Linked DNA regions of Homo sapiens: all the other regions are linked to region 1. Evidence: promoter capture Hi-C in human tissues and cell types (Jung and others, 2019). All regions are on one chromosome and are shown on one strand. Each heading gives the region's core, a stretch centred on a gene start or on the middle of the fragment in contact. The rest is flanking DNA. Distances are from core to core; before and after follow the strand shown.

What was found. The method cuts DNA at HindIII sites, captures the fragments that hold promoters and counts their contacts. A contact is called where the count stands out against the background at its distance.
Region 2: a contact is called between a fragment that was not itself captured here and the fragment with the promoter of HEBP2 in region 1, in 1 of the 25 tissues and cell types used here (dorsolateral prefrontal cortex).
Region 3: a fragment that was not itself captured here is called in contact with the fragment with the promoter of HEBP2 in region 1 in 1 of the 25 tissues and cell types used here (aorta).
Region 4: a contact is called between a fragment that was not itself captured here and the fragment with the promoter of HEBP2 in region 1, in 1 of the 25 tissues and cell types used here (pancreas).

The regions. Positions count from the first base shown.
Region 1 is chr6:138,399,897-138,406,873 of GRCh38, forward strand. HEBP2 (heme binding protein 2) reads left to right here and starts at 4,327. Exons shown (of 4, transcript NM_014320.3): 1 at 4,327-4,701; 2 at 5,249-5,384; 3 at 6,075-6,255. The coding sequence starts at 4,600. It also overlaps the pseudogene MARCKSL1P2. RefSeq lists enhancers at 3,021-3,541, 4,063-4,583 and silencers at 3,743-3,812, 3,943-4,792. The HindIII fragment of the contact is 23,421 bases long and covers 1-6,977 here.
Region 2 is chr6:138,149,368-138,156,344 of GRCh38, forward strand. No RefSeq gene overlaps it. Among named protein-coding and RNA genes, the nearest start is that of ARFGEF3, 9.1 kb to the right of the region's middle. The HindIII fragment of the contact is 4,449 bases long and covers 943-5,391 here.
Region 3 is chr6:138,174,385-138,181,361 of GRCh38, forward strand. All of the region lies in intron 2 of ARFGEF3 (ARFGEF family member 3), which reads left to right. Among named protein-coding and RNA genes, the nearest start is that of ARFGEF3, 16 kb to the left of the region's middle. RefSeq lists an enhancer at 1,155-1,324. The HindIII fragment of the contact is 5,909 bases long and covers 123-6,031 here.
Region 4 is chr6:138,572,930-138,579,906 of GRCh38, forward strand. It overlaps a transcript of NHSL1 not described here. Among named protein-coding and RNA genes, the nearest start is that of NHSL1, 77 kb to the left of the region's middle. RefSeq lists an enhancer at 3,753-4,253. The HindIII fragment of the contact is 3,932 bases long and covers 1,797-5,728 here.

The sequences.
Region 1 (6,977 bases), core at 3,077-5,576:
AAGGAAAAGAGAAGACATCAATTGCTTTAGAAGCACTAGGCCCATACAATGGGGTATTTCTGGCAATTAAAAAAAAATTAAGTACTGGTACATGCTACAACATAGATGAAAACATTACACTAAGAGCAAGCAGCCAGTCACAAAATATCGCATATTACTTTTGTTGGTTTGTTTGTTTGTTTTGAGACAGAGTTTCACTCCTGTTGCCCAGGCTGGAGTGCAATGGCGGGATCTTGGCTCACTGCAATCTCTGCCTCCCGGGTTCAAGCGATTCTCCTGCTTCAGCCTCCCAAGTAACTGGGACTACAGGCGTCCGCCACCACACCTGGCTAATTTTGTATTTTTAGTAGAGATGGGGTTTCTCCATGTTGGTCAGGCTGGTCTCGAACTCCCAACCTCGGGTGATCCGCCCTCCTCGGCCTCCCAAAGTGCTGGAATTACAGGCGTGAGTGACAACACCTGGCCTAAATATCACATATTATAATACATGATTCCATTTGTACGAAATATCCAGAAGAGGCAAATCCATAGAGACAGAAAGTAGGTTAGTGGCTGCAAGGGGTTGGGGCAAGGGAGATGAAGAGTGACTGCTAAGCTACATGGAGTTTCTGTTTGGACTGACGGAATGTTCTATAATTAGAATTAGATAGTAGTCATGATGTTTGTACAACACAGTGAATATACTAAAAACCACTGAATTGTACACTTTAAAATAGTGACTGATGCTATGTGAATCATATCTCAAAAAATATTTTAAAGCACCAGGTGCACTGTTTTAGTCTATTTTCTATTGCTGATAACAGAAAATCTGAATCTGGGTAATTTATAAATAAAAAGAATTTATTTCCTATGGTTATGGAGGTTGGGAAGTTCAAGGTCAAGGGGCCACATCTGGTGAGGGCCTTCCTGCTGGTGGGGACTCTCTTCAGAGTTCCGTGACAGCACAGAGCATTACATGGTGACGGGGCTCAGTGTGCTAGCACAGGTCTCTCTTCTTCCTCTTATAAAACCACAAGTCCCATTCTCGTGCTAACCCAATAATCCATTAACCCATTAACCCATGAATGGATTAATTTCAGAGCCCTCATCACTCAATCACCTCTTAAGGCCCCATCTTTCAATACTGCCCTATTGGGGATTCAGTTTCAACATGAGTTTCTGAAGAGATGAACATTCAAACCATAGCATACACCCACTAGGATGATTATAATCCAAAAGCCAGATAAAAACACGTGTTGATGGGGATGTGGAGAAATAGAATGCTCACACCTTGTTAGTGAGAATGTGAAGTGGCGAAAAAACAGTCTGGCAGTTTCTCAGAAAGTTAAACATAGAGTTACCATTTGACCCAGAACTTCTACTCCTAGATGTTTACCCAAGAGACATGAAAACATACATGCACACAGAAACATGTACATAAACATGTAGAGCAGCTTTATTTATAATAGCCAAAAGTTGAAAATGGCCCAAATGTCCCTCATCTGATAAGTTGATAAAATGTTTATCCAATGGACTATTAATCAGCTATAAAAAGAAATGGAGTACCTGCCACAACACAGATGAACCTCGAAAACACTTTGCCAAGTTAAAGAAACCAGTCACAAAGGACCACGTACTATTATGAGTCCATTCATATGAAATGTTCCAAATAGACAAAACTATAGAGACAGAGAACAAATTAGTAGTTGTCTAGGCATAGGGAATGGGGAATTGGGAGGTGGTGGCTAAAGGTTATAGAGTTTCTTTAAGGGTGGGAAGTGATGAAAATGTTCTCACCTTGTGATGATGGTTGCCCAGTCCTTGTGATGATGGTTGCCCAGATCTAAAGATCCTAAAAACCATTGACTAGTACACTTTAAATGGGTGAACTATATGGTATATGAATTATATCTTAATAAATCTCTTGGAAAAAATAAAGAATACATCTAACAAAAAAAAATTTAAGGGATATTTATTCCTTTTCCAATTGTTATAATAAAACCAGGTGGAAGAGAATGGTTGTAGCAGTTAGAAAAAAAAAGAATACAAATCTGGGGTTTGGCCATTAAAAGTTATTCATAAAAATGAGAGAAGAAAAGGCAAGAAGAAGTTATTTCACATTACAGACCTCTCCCTGGCCCCAAAGCCTAACATGTGCTTACCGAGTCAAAAAAGAGACACAGTTGATTCACAAGCTGAAGGTTGGAACTTGAATAGAACCCTAGGCAGGGCAGTGCCCCCCTGCCCGGCCCAGGTGCCACTAGGCACAGCACCAGAGTAAAAACTCAACAGCGGGGAGGCCGGACCCTCGAGGTTTGGGAGTTTAAGCACCCAACTTCTGGCTCAGGGATTTGGGGAGTAGGGTAAACAAAACCTACTTGGAAAAGAATTGGGGAAGAAAACCAAAAATTGCCTTCTGCAGGGCTGGGGACAGGGAAGGAGGCAGGGCCAGGGAAAGGCACATTTCATATCACTAATCTAACTTGGGAGGCTGTGGGGGACCGTCTTCAACTGGCCTTACGAGGAAAGCCACATGGCCGATTGGAGAATCCACAGGAGGGAGAGAAGGAAAGGGAATGTAGCTGGTAGGATGCAATAGCCCCTTCCTTTCTGGGCACAGGAGGGCAGCCAGGGCACCAGGTCCAGGCAGTAACCTCACAAGAACAGCAGTTTTTGCAGCTTAGAGATCACCCACCTGGCCCACCCAGCTACTCATTCTGCTCAGCGTGGGCTGGTGTAGGGCCACTCTCCGCCCCGAGGGAGTGGACAGCTCTGTAGCTTGGGGCCCTGCCTCTTCTTCTGAGGCAGTACTGCCTCTGCGCCCTTGGCCTGGGGCTCCTGGCTCTCAGGGGTGGCAACAGCCTTCCCTTCCTGGGCAGCGCCCTTGTCGCTGCAGGCATTGATCTTCCCCCACTCCTGTTCTTCCTCCATAGGTGAGGAGGCAGAAGAGTCACCCCACCCTCCTTCCCATTTCTCTTGAAGGACAAGCTGCTCTTAGAAACCCTTCTTGAAAGATAATTATTTATTTATTTATTTATTTATTTATTTATTTATTTATTTATTTATTTTAGACAGGGTATCACTCTGTTACCCAAGCTAGAGTGCAGTGGCGCAATCTCGGCTCACTGCAGCTTCGACCTCCCCAGGCTCAAGCCGATCCTCCCACCTCAGCCTCCCGAGTAGCTGAGATCACAACCCCAGCACACTCAGCTTTTTTTTTTTTTTTTTTTTTTTTGGAAGGCAGCTATGCTCTCCACTCTACTATCAACGCTATTTTATTGTATTTTTGTAGAGACGGGTTTTCGCCATGTTGCCCAGTCTGGTCTCGAACTCCTGGGCTCAAGCGATCACCCCTGTCTTGGCCTCCCAAAATGAAGGGATTACAGGCGTGAGCCACCGTGCCTGGCCTTGAAAGGCAATTTCGTCTTCTTGGAAGTCTCCTTGCGAGGGAGGGAGCCTCCCCTTTGGCCTCAGCACCCTGGCTAGGGGGTGCTGGCTCCATGGCATTGCCAATGGTCCCGGCTGCCTCTTCTGTTCACAGGGGCCTACTCCCCTTCACCCTTGGGGGATGTCACCATTGCTTTTCACGTGGCCACCCTCCTGTCCGTTGGCTTTCGCGTGGGGAGTGCCTGCTGCCTCTGCGGCGGTCACGTCGCCCCGGAGAGCCTCGGAGCTCTGGCTGCCCACGATGGGAGTCCTCTGGGGGGCGCCGGAGCCGTGCCGGGTCCCCGCCGCAGGGGACAGTAACGCGGAGTCGGCCTGGCCGGCGGAAAGGGGGTGCTGGGGAACAGAGCCGCACCCCACTCGGCTCGGGAAAGCCCTGGTAACCAAAATTCTTGAAAAGCACTAGTGTCTGGCCTCGGCACTAACTCTCCCCGAGTCTCGTTAAGCCTGCGGGGATGACTCAGAGGGTCTGGGGTCCTGTCGGGGAAAAGTTCAGAAACCAGAACAGTTCCAGATTCTCTCCATGTGTCTGTGGTCCCACCACCTCCTCCGCAAGGGACCCTGAAAGCTGTCTGGGACCTAGGACAACTTCTTGGGATGAGTACGGCCATTCGCCCTGGCTGAGCCCCAGGAGTGCGGGCAGGGGCCGCGGGGGTCGGGTCGCCAGCCGCCACCTCCTGCCTTTCTCTGCCTGCGGTGCGCTGGGACACCCTCGAGGCGGCTCAGCGCCCGCGGTTCCCAGCGCGGGCGGGGCCGCGGCAGAGGTTCCCAAACCGGTTGCACAGAAACAGCGCCACCCCCTACTGCCCGCGGGGCCACCTGTGTGTGCCTTTCCTTCAAAAACAAAGGCGGGGCGGGGGCGGAAGTGCCTCAAAAGAAGGCGGGCCGAAGCGAGGTGCGGCTCCCTGTCGCCGCGGAGGGGCGGGGGCAGGACGCGCAACTCCGGCCGGAGCTGTCCGGGGTCGTGAGCCGGCCCCGCCTTGGTGGCGGCGCCCCCTCGCGGTCCAGAGGCAGACGCATCGGGTGGGCTCGGGTCTCCAGCCCGGCCGGGAGGAGGGACCGGGTCTGCGGAGCGGGGACTCGGGGCCTCGGCGGGGCGCGCACACGCAGGCGGGGCGGCCCGGGGTGCGGGGCCTCTGCGCGGCTGACCAGGCTCCCAGAGCGTCAGCGCCGCCCATGGCCGAGCCGCTCCAGCCAGACCCCGGGGCGGCCGAGGACGCGGCGGCCCAAGCTGTGGAGACGCCGGGCTGGAAGGCCCCGGAGGACGCCGGCCCCCAGGTAGGCGCCGACTCGGGAGCGGAGGGGCTGGGCCCGCCTTCCGGCTGATTTGCAGTGAGGCCAGCGGGTCCCATAGAGTTAAGTAAAAAGTACAGTTTTTTAAATGGTCCCAGTCCCTACCCACTATGCTACGCAAACGAGAAACCCCGGTCATTTAGCTCTACCCTCCCCGCTACCCCCAGTGCAGGTCCCATCTCAATTTCTTGTCTTTGCGGGGTGGTGGGGCGGGGAGGAACTGGTTACGTCCCAGAACGCGCGGTGGAACCCTCCGAACCGAGGGGGTGTAATAGATGCTTGTCTGAAAGTGTGAATCGAGTCCCCAGCGTGTGGGGTTGGGGCCGCTGCGGTCCCTAATCGCAAGGAGGGGAACCTCGTGGAGGGGAACCTCCCAGACCTAAGGAGCGGGGACCTCAGGCCGGACCCCGGGGCGGTGCAGCCCCTAGACAGGACGGCTCCAGGTCGACCCGAGATCATGGCACCGGTATTTTTGCATCTCACTCCTACCCTCTTAGAATTGCTTCTCGAAGTTTTCTCTGTTCCACTTTAGCCCGGAAGTTATGAGATCCGACACTATGGACCAGCCAAGTGGGTCAGCACGTCCGTGGAGTCTATGGACTGGGATTCAGCCATCCAGACGGGCTTTACGAAACTGAACAGCTACATTCAAGGCAAAAACGAGAAAGGTAAAAGCAGTTTTCCTTGTAATTATGCATATTGTGAAAGAGTCCCCGGGCTTATTATTGAGTTTTAGCTTATTAAAGAAATATCCTTTATAATGGAAAAATAAGCAAGTCATCAAAGACTTGTCTTGTTTTCAGACAAGACTCCTCAGGACCAGGGTTACACTGGGTATTACTTTTCAACCTCTGTTCTCTGATTTTGCTGGATGAACTGGGGTTTGGTGTAACTCGTGATAAGTCCTTTTCTATGGCTAACACCTCAAGATAATTTGGTGACTGGTAGGATCAGAGACGTCAGGAGGCAAGAAGGTACCAAGATTAGAAGCATCAAGTCATAGCTTTTGGTCTGGCTTTGCTGCTATTTATATTTTAGCAGGTCTCTTAGCCTGTGGGACCTCATTTTCTGAATGGTAAGAAAAAATAATTTACTGACCATGTAATCTCTAATTTCCCCTTTTATCTCTAAAAATTAAGAATTTATTAACCCAGAATATCAGTATTACAGAAAGTGGTTTAATGTGGGCAGTGAGCAATTGAGTAATTTTGGCCTTACTGTTTTAAGATGAAAATTATCTTAAAGGTAAATATGTCAACAATGTGAAGTAAATCAAGGAACCCAGATCAAAAAAGAATAGGTTAAATGTTTAAAGCTGTCAAAAATACACTAAATTTGCTTTCATTTTTATGTCACAGAGATGAAAATAAAGATGACAGCTCCAGTGACAAGCTACGTGGAGCCTGGTTCAGGTCCTTTTAGTGAGTCTACCATTACCATTTCCCTGTATATTCCCTCTGAACAGCAATTTGATCCACCCAGGCCTTTAGAGTCAGATGTCTTCATTGAAGATAGAGCCGAAATGACTGTGTTTGTACGGTAAGTGGTAGATAATTTATAGCCTTGCTGACTGCTAGTTTTACTTGCGTGCACTCACAGTTTAGCTCCAATGCAATTTCAAAAGGCTTTTTCACCCTTCCATAAAATCAGGTCTAATGCATTTTGTGATGTTTTCCTACTGGCTTTGTTGTATATGTTACTGAGGTCTGTCACAAGATAATAATCACTTCATTTAATGAGTCTATTGCATGCCCTTCATATAAGACACGGTGCAAATTATATGCTCCCAAAACAAAAGACTGCAATATAGTTAGACCTGAACAAAAATACCTTAAAACAGAAGTCTTAGTTTGTTCAGGCTGTTGTAACAAAATACCGTAGGCTGGGTAGTTTATGAAAAACAGAAATTTCTCTCTCACATTTCTGGAGACAAGGAAGTTCAAGTTTAAGGTGCTGGCAGTTTCAGTGACTGGTGAGGGCCCGTTTCCTGGTTCATAGATGGAACCTTCTCAGAAATGCCCTCATGTGGTGGAAGAGGCAAGGCAGCTTTATTGGACATGTTTTACAAGGCTCTACCCTCATGACCTAATCACTTTCCAAAGGCCTCATCTCCTAATACTATCACATTAGTGATTAGGTTTTCAAAATATGAATTTTGAGGCCCAGCACTTTGGGAGGCTGAGGCAGGTGGATCACTTGAGCCTGGGAGTTAGAGACCAGCCTGGGCAACATGGCAAGGCCCCATCTCTACCAAATGTATA
Region 2 (6,977 bases), core at 1,917-4,416, 250 kb before region 1:
TTTATATTGATATTACATCTAGAAATCTTGTTGAACTCATGGAATCTGATATTTTACCTGTAGATTCCATTTATCTGCAGATTATTTTGATTTTTCCATGTTGAAATTACATCATCTGTAAATGACTGTTTCATTTATTCCTTTCCTAATTCTTGTACCTTTTTCTTGTTTCATTGTGCTGGCTAAGAATTTTAGCCAATACAGTATTGAATAGAAGTGGTGATTCTTCTATTCTGGGAGCATTCTTATCCAGGACTTATGTCTCTTTCTCCCTTTTTTTTTCTTTAGGCATTTGGTACAGAATCAGAGTCCCAAATGGGCACATTTGCTTGGCCAAGCTTAAGTCACAGGCTTTTCTAACTGCCAAAGGAAAAAGAAGAAGAAGAAGAAGGAAAACATATGCCATAGTATGATATAGGGCTCTTTCTCGAACTTTTCTAGGAATTTCTCCAAAATGAGAAGGGCATTCAAATGCCTGAGAATGGAGAGCAACTTGTAATTACCTGTATACTTGCCTTTATGCACAGTAAGAATCTATGTAATCAAACTAATCTCCGTGAATAACGTGCCTATGGGAGAATTTATTCTTCACTTCAAATTGGAACTCTAAGAATATATCTCCCTTTACTGTGTACATAATATCAGAACTGGAGATTCTCCCTGTTCCAAATTATTTATGGAAGTTCCTGTGGCCTATTGTGGAGTCTTTAAGAAGGGAAAACCTGGGGAATGAATGGGGATGAAGTACGGAGCATTCTAAAGAATGAGAATTTCTTGTCAGCATAAAACCTCTGAGGTGACTTTTCTGAGTCATATCCTCAGTTATTCCCTCCCTCTTCTTTCACAGGTTTATATTCTTATGTTTCCAATGTCATTATCTATAGCTGTATCCATGTTTTCTTCTGCCTAAGTTACTGCTAAGTAGATCACAATCTCCCAGCTCCTTTACTTTCACGTCTGTGAAGAAGTTCATGTTCTTTTATGGTTTTCTAGAGGATTACTGCTAGCAATAATAAAAAGCAATTTAATAAAGAGCATTCTGCCACATAATTGAGACACACGCACACACACACACACACACACACACACACAGAATTTAACATTTCTATGTAGACAGTCATGACAAAGTTTTTTAAAAATGACAAAAAATTGCAACATTTATATGACAAAAGTTACTATCCGTAATATACATATAGTTCTTATAAACTGATAAAAGAGCTATCTGATTTTTTAATGGGCCAAGGACATAAACAGTCAGAGAATAAACAATAAAAATAAGATGTTCAACTTCATCTTTTAGGTTTAGTTATGAACTAAAACAAAAATTAAATATATTTTTTTCGACCAATAAACTGGCCAAGGGGAAAAAGATCTTCAGTACATGGTGATGCTGAAGAGAGAATACAGGCTCTCTGTGCACTGTTGGTAGACGCAAACATTGATGTTCCTTGAGCTGAGTCTGACAGTATGTTGCCAAACCCTTTAACCATGTAAACTTTTTTTCTTATTTCATGAGTTTATTCTATTAAAAACAAAACAAAATAAGCTTTAAGAATGTAAGCAGTCTTTCTATATTCAATTATTAATAATCGATACTTCAACAAACCTAACATAGCATTGATCATAAGATGTATCATTATTCTATGTACTACTATGGAAGAAAAAAATGTCAAACTATAGCACAATCCTTTTTATCACTTAGAATTCTCTTAAAATGTTCTAACTGACATGTAATAATTATACATATTTATGGGGTACAGAGTGATATTTTGATACACGTATGCAGTGTGTAATGATCAAATCATGGTAACTTGCATATTCGTCACCTCAAATATTTATCATGTCTTTGTGTTGGGAACATTTAAAATCCTCTCTTCTAGCTATGTGAAAATATAAAATAAATTACTGCTAACTATAGTCAGTCACCCCACAGTGCTATAGAACACTGGAACTTATTCCTTCTATCTAGCTGTAATTTTGTAACCCTTAACCACATGTTCCCTATCCCCTCACCCTCTAGTAATCACAATTCTACTCTATATTCCTATGAGCTCAACTTTTTTAGCTCCCACATATGTGTGAGAACATGCCGTGTTTATCTTTCTGTGCCTAACTTATTTCACTTAACATAATGTCCTCTAGTCTCATTTGTGTTGCCAAGAATGATAGGATTTCATTCTTGTTTATGGGTGAATCGTATTTTGTTTTCTACATATATCACATTTTCTTTATCCATTCATCCATTGATGAACACTTACATTGATTCCATATCTTAGCCACAATAGTGCTGCAATAATCCTTTCATTTTGATAAATACCCAGTACTGGGAATACTGGATCATATGGTAGTTCTAATTTTAGTTTTCTGAGGAACCTCTATGTTGTTTTCCATAATGGCTGTACTAATTTACAATACCACCAACAGTAGATGAGTTTCCATTTCTCTGCATCCTCACTTTTTGTCTTTTTGATAATAGCTATTCTAACGAGGGTGATATGATATCGTACTGTGGTTTGATTTGCATTTCCCTAATGATTACTAATATTGGGTTTCTTTTTTTATAGACTTGGTGGCCATTTGTGTGTCTTCTTTTGAAAAATGTCTATTCAGGTTGTTTGCCCATTTTTTTAAATCAGATCTTTTTCTGCTGTTGAGTTTCTCATATATTCTGAATCTCTTGTCAGATGAATAGTTTGCAAATATCTTCTCCCATTCCACAGGTTGTCTCTTCACTCTGTTAGTTGTTTCCTTTGCTATGCGGAAGCTTTTTAGTTTTATATAATCCCATTTGTATATTTTTGCATTTGTTGACTATGCTTTTGAAGTCTTACCCATAAAATCTTTGCCCAAATCGTTTCCTCTATGTTATCTTCTAGTAGTTTTACAGTTTTGAGTTTTACATTTAAGTCTTTAATCCATTTTGAGTTGATTTACGTATATGGTGAGAAATAGGGATCTAATTGCTTCTCAGCCTTTTGGCTAAGATCAAGTGGAGAAACAGGGATCTAGTTTCATTCTTCTTCATATGGATATTCTGTTTTCCCAGCACCATTCATTAAAGAGGATGTGCTTTCCCCAGTGTGTGTTCTTGGAACCTTTGTCAAAAATCAGTTGGCTGTGAATATCTGGATTTATTTCTGGGTTCTCTATTTTGTTCCATTGGTCTATGTGTGTGTTTTTATACCAGTGCTATGCTGTTTTGGTTACTACAGCTTTGTAATATGTTTTGAATCAGGTAGCATGATGCCTCCAGTTTTGTTCTTTTTGGTCAGCATTGTTTTGGCTATTGTGAGTCTTTTGTGGTTCTATACAAATTTCAGAATTTTTTTCTATTTCTTCAAAGAATATCATTTGTATCTTGATAGAGATTGCATTAAATCTGTAGATTGTTCTGGGTAATATGGTCACTTTGACAATATCCATTCTTCCAATCTATGAACATGGGATGTCTTTCCATTTGTTTGTGTCTTCATCAATTTCTTTAATCAGTGTTTTACAGATTTTATTGTAAAGATCTTATGCCTCCTTGGTTAAATTTATTCCTAGGTATTTAAATATTTTTGGCAGCTATTGTAAAGGGGGTTGCTTTCTTGATTTCTTTTTCAGCTAGTTTATTATTAGTGTACAAGAGTGCTATTGATTATTGTATGTTTGTTTTGTATTCTGCAAATTTGTTGAATTCATTTATCAGTTCTGAAAGTTTTTTTGTAAAGTATTTAGGTATTTTTATATATAAAATCATGTTATTTGCAAATAGTGATAATCTGACTTCTTTTTCAATTTGGATGCTGTTTATTTCTTTCTCTGGCCTAATTGCTCTAGCTAGGATTTCTAGTACCATGTTGAATAAAAGTGGTGAAAATGGGCATCCTTGTCTTGTTCCAGTTCTTAGAGGAAAAGCTTTCAAGTTTTCCCCCATTCAATGTGATGTTAGCTGTGGGTTTGTAATTTATGGCCCTTGTTTTATTGAGGTATGTTTCTTCTATACCTAATTTGTTAAGAGTTTTTATCATGAAGGAATGTTGAATTTTATCAAATATTTTTTCTGCATCTATTGAAGTGATCATATGGATTTTGTTCTTCATTCTGTTAATGTGATGTATCACACAATCATTTGCATATGTTGAACCATCCTTGCATGACTGGGATAAATCCCACTTGATCATGATATATAATCTTTTTGATGTGCTGTTGGATTTGGTTTGCTAGTATTACATGGAGGGTTTTTGCACATGTGTTCATCAAGGATATTGGCCTGTAGTTTTCTTTTTTGTTGTGTCCTTGTCTGGTTTTGGTAATGTGGCCTCATAGCGTGCATCCTTTTTGACTCAGCACTTCCCCCTTCTAGGAGTTTACTCTAGGAATATATTCTAATAGGTAGGTAATACAATAACCACAGCAATGTTTACTGAAGTCTTGTTTATAATAGTAAAAGCTGGAATCCAACAATATAGATGGATTAAATAGTTTTCTAGAGTTATACAACAGAATAATAAGCAGCCATTTAAAAGGAAAAATTGCCTGTGACAAACCATAGAGTGAAAGGAAGCAGAATGTATAAGACCATTTACATCATTTATATAAAAGTTACCATATGTACAAATACATATACGTCTACATATACAGATATGGCTATCAAAACATTTAAATTTTATTAACAAGCAGGTGGCAGGCATTGTGAGGTTATTGTTTATAATGTTATGTATAATTTTATATAGCCTTACTACTGTTGTGATTTCCTTTTCCCCGTCACCTTAGTTCCTCAATTCTAATTGTCTTACTCCAATTTTTGTCTTCCCAAATATCTCTAGGTCACCATATTTAGCTTGACTTCTGTGCACTATGAAGTGAACTAGCAAATGCTTCAAAGAAAGAAAGTAGCAAATAACATCAGGCTCACTTCTGTACATTCTCTGTCTCTCTAAGATCTTGTTCCTTCAAGTCCTGGCTGCCCTGGTTGTTTAGATGCCTTCAAACAGCTCCTCTTAATTTTTTAATCCAGATTTATAACTGCTTTCAACAGTAAGTGGTTCTGATACAAGCTGCTGTATCATAGCCAGAAGCAAAAGTCCAATTGTCTCATATTTAAGGGCATATTAATTATTGCTAAAATAGGAAATTATTTTGTAAGTAAAGAGATAATTTTTAATGTGAATAATTTTTAGTATTACCTGTTTTGTGGGTATTTAAAATTTTTCCTTGAAGAAAGGTATACAATATTTTATAGAAGTTACTTAAAAGTATTAAATATAATCTTTTAAAAATGCTGATCATAAATAGTTGTATAAACCATATTCAAATTAAATACTTTTTCACTCATCTAAATTTAATTCAAAATTGAATGTAATCCAAAAATATGCTTATTTTATTTTCTGATTATACTGCTGCATATTTGGGTATAATTTTATATTGCAAACAAGTTTCTTTACTACTGTATTCTGTGAATCAAGCATTAGAGTAAGTGAAAAGATTGACGATTTGAATATCAGGTAAAACAAGCATAACAGAGATTTGAGCTGGAAGTACAGATTTAGCATCATGAACCTAGGTGGTCAAGATCTGAAGCAATGGCAAATTCAGTAGATATTATCAGATATGAAAATTTTGTGGGATTGAGACTGCTTCCCAAGCATTCACAAATGGGGAACTACCTGGGTCCTCCACACTTCATAGAAGCCTTCTACACATCCTTAGTCAGCTCTCTTTCTTATTTTCGAATTTTGGGTCCTCTACCTGTTCATTTCTCCTCTTACATTCAGCATATGTCTTCTTGTTTCATAAGCAAAACAGAAGTCACCAGGTGTAGCTCCCACAAATTCCTGTCTCTACATCAACAACTAAACAATATAAAAAATCAGCTTTCTATCTTCATGCCCCACTCATATCCGTAAATTGGCCTTCATCCCCTAACTGGGCAATGACTCTGTCTATACTCTAGGTACCCTCTTTCCCATCTTCTTAGCATACTTGTTTCCCCCATTAGGCTGGCATCCTCCTGCCTTTTTTCAACCCTGCTTTTATGTCTTTTTTTCTTTCACTGTATAAATATACTCCCCACCACTAGGCTGTTTAATCACAAATTTTCCTCTGGTCTGGTGTTTTCCAAATTTCATGCTTCTCCCCATGAGTGGGTTGTGAAATTAATGAGTCTGTTTCATAAAAATATATTAAGAAATGAATTAGTATGGAACCTACAATATCAGAATGCAACACGTATATTCCTAGCAGGAGGTGTCCACATTGCCACAAATCCTGCAGACAACTGAGTTGAGTGACAGCTGGAGAATGAGAGGTAATGAATATATGCATTGGCTGGGAACTGCCAGCCAGTCACTCTTCTGCTCACTGGTGTCTCAGCTGATTTTTTGGAATTGATCATAATTGTATCAGGAGAGTTCATGTTTTATAGTTTCATTTTATGTCAATGTAATTTATAGCTAATTATAAAGTGAGGTTTAGAAGAACTTTATCTAGTCTTGGCAAAGGCAGGAAGACTTTCCACCAAGGTTTGGCTATGAGTTAGAAGATTTCAGTGTGCTTTTTGAATTAGGCATAACTGTCAGGCATTTTTCAACCTTGTGATAATTGTACATTTTAATCAAAGTTATACCAACTATCCTTAACACAGTTTATTTTATTATTAGAAGAAATAAAAACAGTCGTGTGAAAAACACAGAGGCATGTTCTGGCAGAACTACCAGATTTGGACATGTACATAGTGACAACATTAAGAAAAATGTCTTTTTAAATTAATAAATTCTATTATTTGAACTATAAGCCAAAGAAGTGCAAATCATTTTAATAATGATAAAGTATAGCTTGTCGATTACTCAAAACTCACTGAAAATGTATTATTTGTAATGACATTCTTGTAAATAAAAGCTTAAGATCTTCCAAAAAAATCACTTGAAATATAGCAAGCCAAATTTGTTCATAAGGCCTTCAAATATTTTCAAAGAAAAAAAGATGTAAATTTG
Region 3 (6,977 bases), core at 1,827-4,326, 230 kb before region 1:
TCTTCCAGGCACTTTAAACCAGGAGAGCATTTACTCTGTTAAATCATTATGTTTAACATGGCATCCTTCTATTTGAGCATCTGCTAAAAAAAAAAAAAAAAAAAAAAAAAAAAAAAAAAAAAATCCAGGCACTGTAAATATTTGTCTGCTCATTGAGGAGAATTTGGATATGTTATTTTTTCTTCCATTATGCTTACATTTAATATATGGGAAAGAAACCAAGTTTATAAACTATCTCTTGCATTCTTCTGATTTTGAATTCAGATTTAGTTTTCATTTCTGTTACATAATCACCTCCAGGTGATTATTTGCAGATTTTTAAAATTGTTTGTTTTGGAAAGGGCTACAGGGATCATTCATAATCTTGAATACCTTTGCTCTGCTTTTTCCTATTTTTTTCTTTTGCCACTTATTTGTTAATTTCATGTTAAATATAGTCCCATTCTCATAATTACTAATATTGTTTTGGTCAGTTGTGTACGTTAGTAGTGGTAGCTTAAATCAGAAGAACCCTTGAAGAGCCTGTGTTGAAATTGAATCCTTGAGAGACCTATGTTGTATTATTTTTCCTTTTGCCATTGATTGCTCTAAGGACTTTTGAATGATTTAAGTGACTGGTGACTGGATTCAGTTATGCATAAAGCATTCTAAGAGAGATATTGATGATCAAACATATTAGATGGAATTAAGGAGGTCAAGAGACATTACTTATTTGTGCTCAAGGCTCTGTCACTGATGAAATGCTCACTCTTATTGTTGATGTGGTGAGCAACAAGGGTAGGAATTAATGCAGAGCCTATTGATATTCAATGCCAGGGAGGGAGGCAGGTCCAGGGAATATGTACTATGGAATATTTCATGACTTTATTAGTGGCTAGTCATGTGAAAATCTTTCCACCTTCCTGCCCTTAGTCTTGCTTTTGATTTGGGGGTGAGTTTTAAGGGTCCTTATCTTCCTCCATGAGGAGACTGCACCCTTGCTATCTTTGCTTCTCTTTTCCCTTTTCTTAAACTTCAAGGTCTCCTTACATGCATCTTTGCAGGGTTGAATAAATCTATGAATTAGTGGGCTACTCAGGTATCCCTACACCGAAGAAGCCATCGATAGCTCAGGTTATGTCTTAGATTAGAATCATCCTCCCCATGTCCTTTTTGCTTCATAAGCAAAAGCCCACTCAGGATGTTCCCTAATAGTGACAGATTTGGTGAAAAATATGACCAAGTACAGTTGCCACTGATAGTCACTGATTCCATCATAGCTATCCACTGGTTTTTCAACCAAGTAATATCATAAGACTTGGAGGCTACCGATCAAGAACAATTAGAATATTCTGCAGTTGTTGAGTAGAATATTGTGTAAATGTCTGTTAGGTCCATTTGGCTTAAAGTCCAACTTAAGTCCAATGTCTCTTTGTTGATTTTCTGTCCTGACAACGTGTCTAATGCTGTGAGTGGGATGTTGAAGTCCCCTACTATTATTGTATTGGTGTCTATCTCTTTCTTTAGGTCCAGTAATATTTGTTTTATGAATCTGGGTGCTCCAGTGTTGGGTACATATATATTAAAATTGTTATAGTCTCTTGTTGAATTGATCCCTTTATCATTATATAATGACCTTCTTTGTCTTTATTGTTTTTGATTTAAAGTCTGTTTTATCTGACATAAGTATAGTGATTCCTGCTTACTTTTGATTTCCGTTTGCATGGAATATCTTTTCCCACCTCTGTACTTTCAGTCTACACATGTCTCTACAAGTAAAGTGAGTTTCTTATAAGCAGCGTATAGTTGGTAGTTGGATTTTTTTTTTTTTTTTTTTAGACGGAGTCTTGCTGTGTCACCCAGGCTGAAGTGCAGTGGTGCAATCTCAGCTCACTGCAACCTCCACCTCCTGAGTTCAAGTGATTCTCCTGCCTCAGCCTCCCAAATAGCTGGGACTACAGGCACAGCGCCACCACACCCGGCCAATTTTTGTGTTTTTAGTAGAGACGGAGTTTCACCATATTGGCCAGGCTGGTCTCGAATGCCTGACCTCGTGATCCACCCGCCTCGGCCTCCCAAAGTGCTGGGATTACAGGCCTGAGCCACTGCACCCAGCCTAGTTGGATCTTTTTTAAATCCTTTATGACAATCTATATATTTTAAGTGGAGCATTTAATGCATTTACATTCAAGGTTAATATTGGTATGTGAGGTTTTGTTCCTGTCACGTTGTCATTTAGATTCTTTGTTTTTTTCTTTTTCTCTGTCTCTGTGGTTTGGTGGAATTCTCTCTTGTTGCCATTCATTCCTTTCTCTTCTCTTAATCCTTTGATTGCTTTATAAGACCTGTGAGCTTTTGTGTTTTCATAATGGTGAATATCAGCCTTTTATTTCCATGTTTAAGACTCCTTTGAGCATTGCTGGTAGGCCAGTCTAGGGATGATAAATTCTCTTAGCATTTGCTTGTCTGGGAAAGAATTTATTTCTCCTTCATTTATGAAGCTTATTCTTTCTGGATATAAAATTCTTGGTCGACATTTTCTTTTCTTTGTTTTTCAGCATTTTGAAAATGTCATTCAATTTTCTTCTATCTAAGAGGTTTCTGCTGAGAAATCCACTGTTAGTCTAATGGGGTTTTCTTTATAGGTGACTAGATGCTTTTCTCTTGCTGATTTTAAAATTCTTTCACTTTTACTTTATTTATTTATTTATTTATTTATTTATTTATTTATTTATATTTTTTTTGAGACACGGTCATGCTCTGTCACCCAGGCTGGAGTGCAGTGGAGCAATCTCAGCTCACTGCAACCTCTGCCTCCCAGATTCAAGCAATCCTCCCACCTCAGCCTCCCTGTAGCTAGGACTACAGGCATATGTCACCACACCCAGCTAATTTCTGTATTTTTTGTTTGTTTGTTTGTTTATTTGTTTGTTTTGGTAGAGATTGGGTTTCATCATGTTGCCCAGGCTGGTCTCAGACTCCTTGACTCAAGTGATTCACCTGCCTCAGCTTCCCAAAATGCTGGGATTACAGGCATGAGCTACTGCACCTGGCTCACTTTTACTTTAGACAGTCTAATTATAATATGCTGCAGTGAAGTCCTTTTTGCAATGCATTTTTCTGGGAATTGCTGGGCCTCCTGTATCTGGAGGATCTGTCCAAATTTCTTGCCAGACTTGGGAAATTTTCATCAATTATTTCCTTAAAGAGATCTTTGGTCTTTCTCTTCCCTCAGGAATACTGATAATTTGTAAGTTTGATTGCTTTATATAGTCCCAAATATCTCAAAGGCTTTGTTCATTCTTTTTTCCTTATATTTTGCCTCACTGTATTATTTCAAAAGACCTGCCTTCAAGTTCTGAGATTCCTTCTTCTGCTTGGTCTAGTCTATTACTGAAGCTTTTGAATATATTTTGTAATTCCTTCAATGAATTTTTCAGTTCCAGAATATTTTTAAGATGTCTATCTCCTTGGTAAATTTTTCATTCATATCATGAATTGATTTTCTGATTTCCTTATATTCGTTTTCAGATTTTTCTTGCATCTCATTGAGCGTGTTTAAAATAAATATTTTGAATTTTTTATCTGACATTTCAAGGATATCTTTTTGGTTAGGATTTATTGGCGGAGAATTACTGTGTTCTTTTGAGGGTGTCACATTACCTTACTTTTGTATGCTTCCTTTATCTTTGTGTTGATTTAAATGCATTTGGAGCAAGGGTAGCTTCCTCTTTCTGAATTTGTTTTTGTTGGGCAGGGGGACTTTTTCTCTCGAAGATGTGACTATGATGTTGGTCGGCTAGGGTTTTACTGAAGGCATTCCCTAATCCTCACCATTCTTATGTCCTAGGCCATCTCATATAATGAAATATAGCATACTTGTCATGGCTCCTCTTCCTTCCACATGCCAAAGCCAAGACCAAAACCACAGGTCTAGAGGTGTTTGAATAAGTAGCCCGATAGCTCCCCTGCATGTTGAGCACTAAAATGTTAGGGGAACATGTTCTGGGCTGCTCTCTTCATCAAAATTGCCCAGTGTGTGTCTTATAACATGCAGCCTTTCTCACTTCCTTATCCTACTTATCCTTGAAGACTGTGCTGAGATGTCCTGAAGTCCTTCCTTAATTTCCTAGGTAGAAATTATATTTCTCTCCCTTGTGTCCTCACCGTTCTTCTTACATAATCCTGTCGTGAAGCTCATCAACCACGTTGGCAGTTGTTTGCAGGTTCTATTCTCAGACCCTAGCCTCAAGGAGCTCATCTAGACAAATTACTCATCTTTGTATCTCTTATGTCAGTGCCTTATAAATGTTTGTGGGATGAAACTGCTTCTCCAGCTTTACATCACATGTCCCAGAAAGCCACTGCCTTCATCTCCTAGATTCTTAGAAAATGCAGTATTTGAAAGAATCTGTGCCAAAATGGAATCTCAGCTTTGGCAATAGGACTTCTAATATCTTACTGACTGAGAAGGTCGGTCTAAAGAGTATACCCAGAAGCCCAACACTCAATTCATTGACCTCAGCTAGTGTAGACTTAAATCCTGTGCCCTCTACTCAACTAAAGCCCTGCCCCACCTAATGTATATTAGATAAGGGGTGGGGGATGGTGGTGGTAGTAATCAGGACTCTGACCAATATTCTATGCCAAAGGATGCTAAAGATACAAAGTTTTCAGTTCTCAGTAGATTTCCATGAAAAGTCCTTGGCCACCCTGGAAGAGGCATACTGCCTGTCCTACCTCCACCTCCAACATGAATTTGACTTGGAGTATTTATGTTCTAAAGGACTGAAGAACCTCCACTCCTATCCTGTCCCAATTCAGGATTGTCTCTTTCTTCCTTCCAGGTCACTTGCAACAGTACTGGTCCAGATGAAATAAAACTGTCAAGGGAATCCTGGAGCTATTTTGTCAAAAGGCAGCCATTGGCAGCAAACCTCTTGTTGGCATTACTCAGTGCCCCTTTGGGAACAATCCCAGTGATTACCCTAGCCATAACCCAGCCATTTTGCTTACCTGCTCCATGATTTTTCAGAGCCAACCTCAGCCTAATTGCTTTCTCTTGCCAGTTGTACTTTCCAAAAAGATTCTAACAGCTTTTTTTTTTCCCATTTGTCTTTGTATGTGTCCCACCACCTCTCCTCCCTAGCTGACCCTCTGCCTGGCCCTTTGCTTCATTTTGCCTGCCTTGTCCAGACACTTCATTCAGTCTAGATAATGACATATTCCTCCTCGTCTTGACGTGGGGACCTACTGATTTTTCATGCAGGGTGTGAGCACATTCATCAGTGTTTATACTTGGAGAGAACCATCCATAACAGCTTCCCATTTCTCATATGGTTTTACTTTAATTGCCTTTATGCTGCATTGATCTATTTTAGTGCTTTAATTCTGTGCTATGAACCCTGGAGCGACTTCTGCAAGATATGCAAGTTTTTTTGGTTGTTTTGTTTGTTTTGTTTTTTAGAGACAGTCTCACTCTGTTGTTCAGGCTGGAGTGCAGGAGCACAATCATAGCTCATTGCACACTCAAACTCCTGGATTCAAGCAACCCTCCTGCCTCAGCCTCCCAAGTAGCTAGGACTACAGGTGTATGGCACCATGCCCAGTTAATTTTTTTAAAATTTTTTGTAGAGATGGAGTTTTGCTATGTTGCCCATGCTGATCTCAAATTCCTGGCTTCAAGCGATCCTCCCACCTTAGCCTCCCAAAGTGTTGGAGTTACAGGTGTGAACCACCAATGCCTATCAGTTTTTTGGCTTTAATGTGAAGAAAGAAACATATCTGCATCAACTGGGAAGAACTTTGTATGATTTAACATGATGAGGACAGCAAATACCCCAATAGCTGTTTTTGGCACACAGTTTGATTCTCATCAGTATTTTTCCTGCCTTTCTTACGTCATGGAGAAGTGTTGGACTCCCCTTGCTACCTCCCACTGCCATGGAGGAAGCAAAGGATGCTGGTGTAGAATTTGCAGTTCATGTTTTCAGCTTGTGCTAATGAATGGAGGATCTGAGCATACATGCTGGACAGGTACTTCACATTATTCTAGGTAGATTACAAACATCTGTGCTTCTCTTGGATGTAAACTCATCTCGAGTCTCCTTTTCTTGCCTTCTTCCTTTTCTCCCTACTATAGCTGACTTCTCTTTGCAGAGTCATACAAATGTAACTGAGTTTTGGCCCTGTTGAGTCAAACTCTGTTGAGTTTTGCTGGTTACCATAAAAAAAAAGGCGGGCAGGTTGGGGGAGCTTTAAGACACTTTGGTTAGTCCAAGCCTGGCTCATTTTCAGATTTAGCGAATTCTTTATCCCAGCAAGCTGTGAAAGGCAATGTGGGGAAGACATTGTCAGCCTTTCTGGGCTCAGTGGGAACCTTGTAAGTGAGCAAGGGCTTGTTCTAGAGGAGAACTGAACTTTTCTAGCTTCCTGAGATCAGGCTTGCCATAAACAGGTGACCAGAAAAATCTGTTTGCAAGGAGAGAGTGGCACATGGACTAGCGTTTAGCAGTGGAGGTTGCTGAAATCTGTGTTAGAAATCAAGGTGCTCTGAAGATCTAGTTTCTCTTTTTCCTTTCCCTGCTGCCATAGAAGACAAAGAATATTCTTGTCTCCTTTTAACATAGTATAAGTGATAATACCATTCTATTTCCTAACTTACAACCAGCTGCGTCTGTGGGCTATCTGCCAGTTGTAAGCCAGTCCTAATGGTTTCCATGTTCTATTCCCATTAATAAGGAAGACCTACAATTAGCTCTCCATTACAAGGCCTGTCCTTGTTAATAGCTCTGACCTAAAAGCACTTTTTAAGTGATGCAGTCATCACTTAAAGAAGTCACCACTTAAAAAATGAGTGCATAAGTCACCCAAGTTAGTGTGTAGGGGATGTTGACTTGAGTGATATTTTAGGATGTGCACGAATTATTAATCTTCAGAAACAAGCCATGGCCACTCATCCTCTCTTTATGACCAATAGTTGATGACTTTATAACTCT
Region 4 (6,977 bases), core at 2,513-5,012, 170 kb after region 1:
TAAGGAAGTATATTTCCAAAGAGAATATAACGGACCCGGCTATTCACTCCCAGCTTCCAACAAAGGTGAAACGCAGCCATCATTGTACCTGTTACTGTCACTCCTGCCTGTCACCAGCAGCCAGAGTGTGGGGCTGGATCCTCCTCTGCCGTATCACTGGGAGCCCCTGGGGGTTATTCCTCTCCAACCTTGAATGATCATCCTATCACAAAGAGTCATCAGAGAGCTACGCTAGTGGCACTTAGCTGCAGGCTCTAGCCCTGAGCCTCCTCTGCAAACTATCTAGAGCCACAGCTTGCAATGCATTTGGGTGTAGCATTTCACCCAAGGCTAACTTACTACAATTCCACGGTCCTAGGGGTGTTAAAAGTCCCTGCAACTTTCCATCATAGAGACTTGGGTCGGCATCTCCTTCTCCCAAGCGTTATTTGGGGTAAGGCAAATAAGCAACGAGTAGAGAACTAGGTCTGTAGCACTTTGCTTTACTCAGCATCGATCAGATACATTAAAATTAACAAACTGCAATAGAAAATAAACTGATTAAAAATTTTAAAACCAGAATTTTGCATCATACATCTACTCCAATTCACTGAGATTTTAAGAAGAAGGCTCTACAAGCTTACTGGGACAGGAACACTTGTAGAAGATAGTCAGAAGTTCTACAAAGTGTTACTAAGATAGGCAGTTCATATTACACCATGTAAATAATGACAGAGAACAGGTATTACTAAGGCAGAAGCTACAAAGCAGCCTCAGTTTAAAAGCTAAAAGAGTCCTTGAGATCACGTAGTTTAAACTCCATGATTTTCAGATAGGAAAACTCAGGCCCAGAGAAAGTATGTTCATACCCAATGTCACACAGAGAAGTCAGTAATGAGGACCAGGCTGCAGCCGACACCACTTGGATCAGAGATTCACACACTTACCAGGGATGCTTGCTACATCACCAAGTGCTCTGGGCCTGTTTCAGTTATTAATTGCAATAATATCTCCACTTTGACTACCATTATTTTATTTTCTTTTTTTTGAGACAGAGTCTCACTCTGTCGCCCAGGCTGGAGTGCAGTGGCATGATGCAAGCTCTGCCTCCCGGGTTCACACCATTCTCCTGACTCAGCCTCCCGAGTAGCTGGGACCACAGGCGCCTGCCACCACGCCTGGCTAATTTTGTTTTTGTATTTTTAGTAGAGACAGGGTTTCACCGTGTTAGCCAGGATGGTCTCGATCCCCTGACTTTGTGATCCGCCTGCCTTGGCCTCCCAAGGTGCTGGGATTACAGGCGTGAGCCACCGCACCCAGATGACTACCATTATAAAGGCAAAGTTAAAATAGTTGTGCATAACACCAGTGGCTAACATCAAACATCCACTCTCTTCTTTCTGAGTAGAAAACACTTTTTGAGAGTCTCAAAATATAAAAGGAAAAGTAAAAAAAGACCATCTCACCAGAGAAATCCATTAATGCCCCAAATGCTGTTTGCCATTTCACTGGTTCACGAGACCCCCGCCACACATCTGTGCACACTCAAAGGAGCCATGGAACCCAAACAATGAACACAATTCTCTTCTCCCTACTCTCTACATCCTGCAGCTGCATTTTTAATTTAAAAATATCTGGCTGGGCACGGTGGCTTACGTCTGTAATCCCAGCACTTTGGGAGGCCAAGGTAGATGAATCGTTTGAGCTTAGGAGTTCAAGCTCGGCCTGGGAAACATGGCAAAACTCTGTGTCTACAAATAATGCAAAAAAAAAAAAAAAGAAAAGAAAAAAAGTTAAGTCAGGCATGGTGGTACTTGCCTGTGGTCCCAGCTACTCAGGAGGCTGAGGTGGGAGGATCGCTTGAGCCCAGGAAATCGAGGCTTCAGTGAGCTGTGGTTGCACCACTGCACTCCAGCCTGGGCAATAGAGTGAGACCCTATCTCAAAAGAAATAAATAAAAATAAAAAATTATATATATGCTTAAACCTTGTGTGTTCTTCTTTTTTTGGAGACGGAGTTTCCCTCTTGTTGCCCAGGCTGGAGTGCAATGGCGCAATCTCAGCTCATCACAACCTCTGCCTCTCGGGTTCAAGTGATTCTCCTCCCTCAGCCTCCCGAGTAGCTAGGATTACAGGCATATGCCACCACACCCAGCTAATTTTGTATTTTTAGTAGAGACGGGGTTTCTCCATGTTGGTCAGGCTGGTCTCGAACTCCCAACCTCAGGTGATCTGTCTGCCTCGGCCTCCCAAAGTGCTGGGATTACAGACATGAGCCACCGTGCCTGGTCCAAGTGCTATTTTTTATTTACCAGAAGTGCTGTTGAGCGCTTTCCTCAACTCCCCCTCCATGGAATGTGCATACACACAGCAGCAAAGGTGAATTGGTATCATTAGTAACTGGCGTGTTTTCCTCCAGGGCCCCCAACCCTGTACACTTCAAGGAAAGGGTTAACAGGAGAAGCTAAAGGAACATTTCCTGCCAAGCAGCCAAAATGATAACTAGTCCATTCAGGGACTAGACTCATGACTCTCCGTCAAAGTAAGTGCCCACGTCTGCCAGATTTCCAGAAACTGTGCACCCACAAATCATAAGACCTAGGGATACGTTTGTATAATAACCAATTCTCTGTCTACTGGCTAGTCCATATTTCTGTTATATTGGGCCTTGATTATTAAATCTTCATTTATCTAAGAAAGTCAAATAAATTAACTACTTTTACAACTGGATCAGAGTTCCTGTTGATCAAGAGAATATAATGGTTTAAATCAGCTTTGTAGGTAATAATTAGATCTTAACTATGCATATTAGATATATACTCTAATTAGCTTAGAACATCCTAAGTGGGCTTCTTAAGAAGCTACTATATTCACTCAAGCTATATTTGTTTAGCAACCACGATGAACCCCACATTTTAGTTATGTGGATTATCAACCCAAGAGCCATACAAATCAGCCCCTCCTGGCAGCAGGGCCAAGGCTACTTTGTGCCAAAAGCTTCCTGTATATTATTGCTAACCTTCACAATAACCCTGCCGTGGAAAAATCCCTACATTTATTTATTTATTTATTTATTTATTTATTTATTTATTTATTTATTTTGAGGCAGAGTCTCACTCTGTCACTCAGGCCAGAGCGCAGTGGCGCGATCTTGTCTCATTGCAACCTTCGCCTCCCGGGTTTAAGCGATTCTCTTTCCTCAGCCTCCCAAGTAGCTGGAACTACAGGCGCGCATCTCCACGCCTGGCTAATTTTTGTATTTTTAGCAGAGACAGGGTTTTGCCATGTTGGCCAGTCTGATCTCAAACTCCTGATGTCAGGTGATCTGCCCGCCTCAGCCTCCCAAAGTGCTGGGATTACAAGCATGACCCACCGCTCCCCGCCTGCAAATCCTACTTTTACAGTAATTGGTTTTTAAAAAAAATAACTTCAGCTATAATCTTCAAAGTAATGAAAACATCTTAACGTAGCTATTTTTCTCCAAGAAAACCTACATTAGACTGCCTTGTCCCCATGTGAGACAGACGTGCTGAACAGATTTTATCTGCCTTCCTTACCGTGCTGGGCTGCCCCCTCCCCTCTCACTGTCAGGCTGTCAAATTCGAACTTCTGCTGTCATCACATGTGCCAATAACTGCTCCCTTCCTACCACTTTGCCACTGCTGAGCTTCAGGCCTTAGGAATCACATAAACAGGCTTGTTTAAATTACATGTTTAATGGGAGTTAATGAGGGCTCACGGAATAAAAGGCAGAGCCTCTGTGGAAGGGCTTTGTCGCAGCTGCCTTTGGCCAGCACCCCCCTCCTTCACCAGCGGGACGGAAGCCCCAGGGTTGAAATGGCTGAAATGGCTGGAGGAGCAGACCCTGCATAATGACCCCCAGGTGGATCTTTACACCATGTTTATGATCAATTGCATCTTTTATACTTAGTTCTCCACATTTGAGGGTCACTTACCCATCACTGCTGACAAAGGGACAAGAAATTACTCTATATTACTCTATATATTTCAGAAATGATTTACATAATACATTAAGGAAAATTTAACTATAAAAACTGGAGGCACCAGAATAAATTACTAGAGGAAGTTCTAGAATCATCTCCTTTGGGAATTCCTAAGTCAAATGCCCATGAATTTGGAAAGATTTATCTATGCTTCTACCAAGAGTCAAAGGAATAGACTGAATATATTTGGAAGGTTCTTGCCATAAGACACAATATTTTATGTTTCAGCATATACTGGCATCCTGAAAAAGGAGTTTATCATAAATGAAAGTTGGAGACTTAATAAAAAGTGTTAAAGAGGACAGGATATAGGATTAGACAAACCTTTCAACGCAACCAGGCATGTAATTGCTCTACTCGCCATCTGTGTAAAATGCCAGCCAAAAATAGGAACTAATTTCAAGTGCCATCAGTTTTTTGGCCTCACAGGCCACAAATGAGCACTGTGACTTTTCATTTCCATGTGTAGCTTGCCTGCCCTGTCAAACCTAGCAAAGAGAACAAGAGAGGCAGCACCCTGAAGTTAGAAATCAATGGGAAAACACGGCTGGATTGCAAGCGCCGCTGGGGTTGGCTGGTTTGGCTGGGAGTGAGGTGCATAAACAGAAGGCATGTGAAAAGAGACAAAGGTGCAAAGAGAACCACATAGAGCACAGAAGAGGACTACTCTCAATGGTGTCACGTTCTGAAGTGGCCCTGCCTGGGCTGGGAGCAGTGAAGTGTGCCTCTCATCAGATTACCACATGAATCACCCAGACAACCCACAGGGACCTTTAGCTTAGGACAGCGTACAGTAGGTTTTCCAACTGTCATCTCCTGTGAATAATTTAAGAGTACACTTAAATGGAAATCTTTCTATGAGGTAATTTGTACACACGAATAATGAAAGCTTATCTCAATATCAAAAGTAAATACTTTGAGCCAGATATTTATAATTAAAAAAACAAAACAACCAAACGGTATTACCCCCAGGACCACAGCAAACACATTCCCCATAGTACATTAAATCCTTCTTCCTTTATCCACCTTTCCACCCACCAAGGAATGAAACAAGTGATTGTACTCTAGAAAGAAGTCATGGAAGGCAAAACGCAGCTAATTACCTAATCAGCGCCGGCCCCGTTTTCAGGTTGCCCTCAACTACCACTGCTTTAAAACTTAAAAGAAGGAAAAGCACTGACTTCTCATTAAACCCTGGCTTTAAAAGCCACAGTGCCTTCAACGGAATTAATAGTGTTGTTCCCCTCAAAGGGAAAGACTCAACACAAACATTTATGCATATGTATCACCACCAGCCCAACTCCCACCTTTCAAAGTCTTCATGCCTGAAAAGGGCGAACAGATCTGACATCCTAAGCCTTAGCTGCACTGTCCCCATGGGATCACTTGATACAGAAGCAATATGGCAGATTATTGCTCTCAGTCCCCTAAGGTGCAAGGGGACAAAGGATGTCGCTGGTAAAGAAGCCGCCACTGACACAGAACATGGACGTCAGAGGCTTGGTAAGCAGTACATAACCAAAAATGCAACATCTGTACCAACTTTCACCAAGAAAATGTCCCCAACCTAAGGAGTTCAGATTACAAGAAATCCTAAAACAGCATCAACTTTGAGATTCTTCTAATATAAGAAGACCAAGGGCAAACTTATTCTGAGATCAAAATAAAATTCCAAATAAATAACTTTTTTAAAAATCATGACTTCCTTTGTTCTTGATACCTTTCCTGTAGCCTCTCCAGTGATCACTGTGGTTATTATTTTTTTTAATCTACTCAACCAGTTTTTCTTTTTTTTTGTAAATTGTATTAAGCACTTAAAATCATAGGAGATCTTATTGAAATGCAGAGTGTGATTCAGGTCTGGGGAAGGGACTGCAATTCTGAACTCCTAGAAGCGCCCAAGTGATGCTAGTGCACAGACTGTATTTAAGTTAGCACAGTGCTAGACTATAATGCCCCTGAGGCCAGGAAGCTCATCTGTCATCTTCCTGTCCCTTACAGCAGTGGTCCCCAGCCTTTCTGGCACCAGGGACCAGTTTCATGGAGGACCATTTTTCCATGGACAGCAGGGTAGGGAGTGGTTTCAGGATGAAACTTCCACCTCAGCTCATCAGCAGCATGAGATTCTCATAAGCAGTGTGCAACCTAGATCCCTGGCATGCATGGCTCACAACAGGGTTCGCACTCCTATGAGAATCTAATGCCGCTGCCTGTCTGACAGGAGGTGAAGCTCAGGCAGCAATGCTCGCTTGCCCACAGCTCCCCTCCTGCTGAGCCGCCTGGTTCCTAATAGGCCACAGCCTGGGGTTTGGGGACCCCTGCCTTATAATGCCTTATACACAGCCAGCATTTAGCCAATGTTGGTTGACAGGGTGAAAAAAATGGAACCATCCATCATTTCCATGTTACCTTTTTATTTTGATCTTAACAAGTTTCAGCGTAAGGAGATAATTAGGCCTTTATAGCAATCATTCCTTTATCACTAAATCACAAAAAGCAAAAGTAAAATGTATAAACTGGCAAAAAGTATACAACCTGAATTAAAGGGTTAATAATAAAACCCCATTCATATGGCCATACTGTTTCACTTTGGGAAGAAAGAAGCTTATTAACTGATAGGCGTATGCTTTTCTTCATTTATTAGGACATCTTCACTGCTTCCATCCACGAGAACTTCAGAATCCAATGATCCAGACCAGCCCAGTGCAATCAACAGTGAGCCAAATCAAAAAGCAGCCTACATTCTACCTGATAATCCACACACAGGCTGGGATCTGCTGGGTTCTACTAGGTGAATTGAATTGCTCCATGCCAGTGGAAAATTTTTTCACATCAGTTTTTCCTAGTAGATGTTTAAAAAATTACAAAGAATTTTCCAATCGACCTTACGTGACCTTTTAAAGCATTTATTCTATTTAACTCTATCTTTAAAACTATACTCACTATGGCTCTATAGTGCTTACACCGAATATATCTGACTTTTAACGTTCTATCA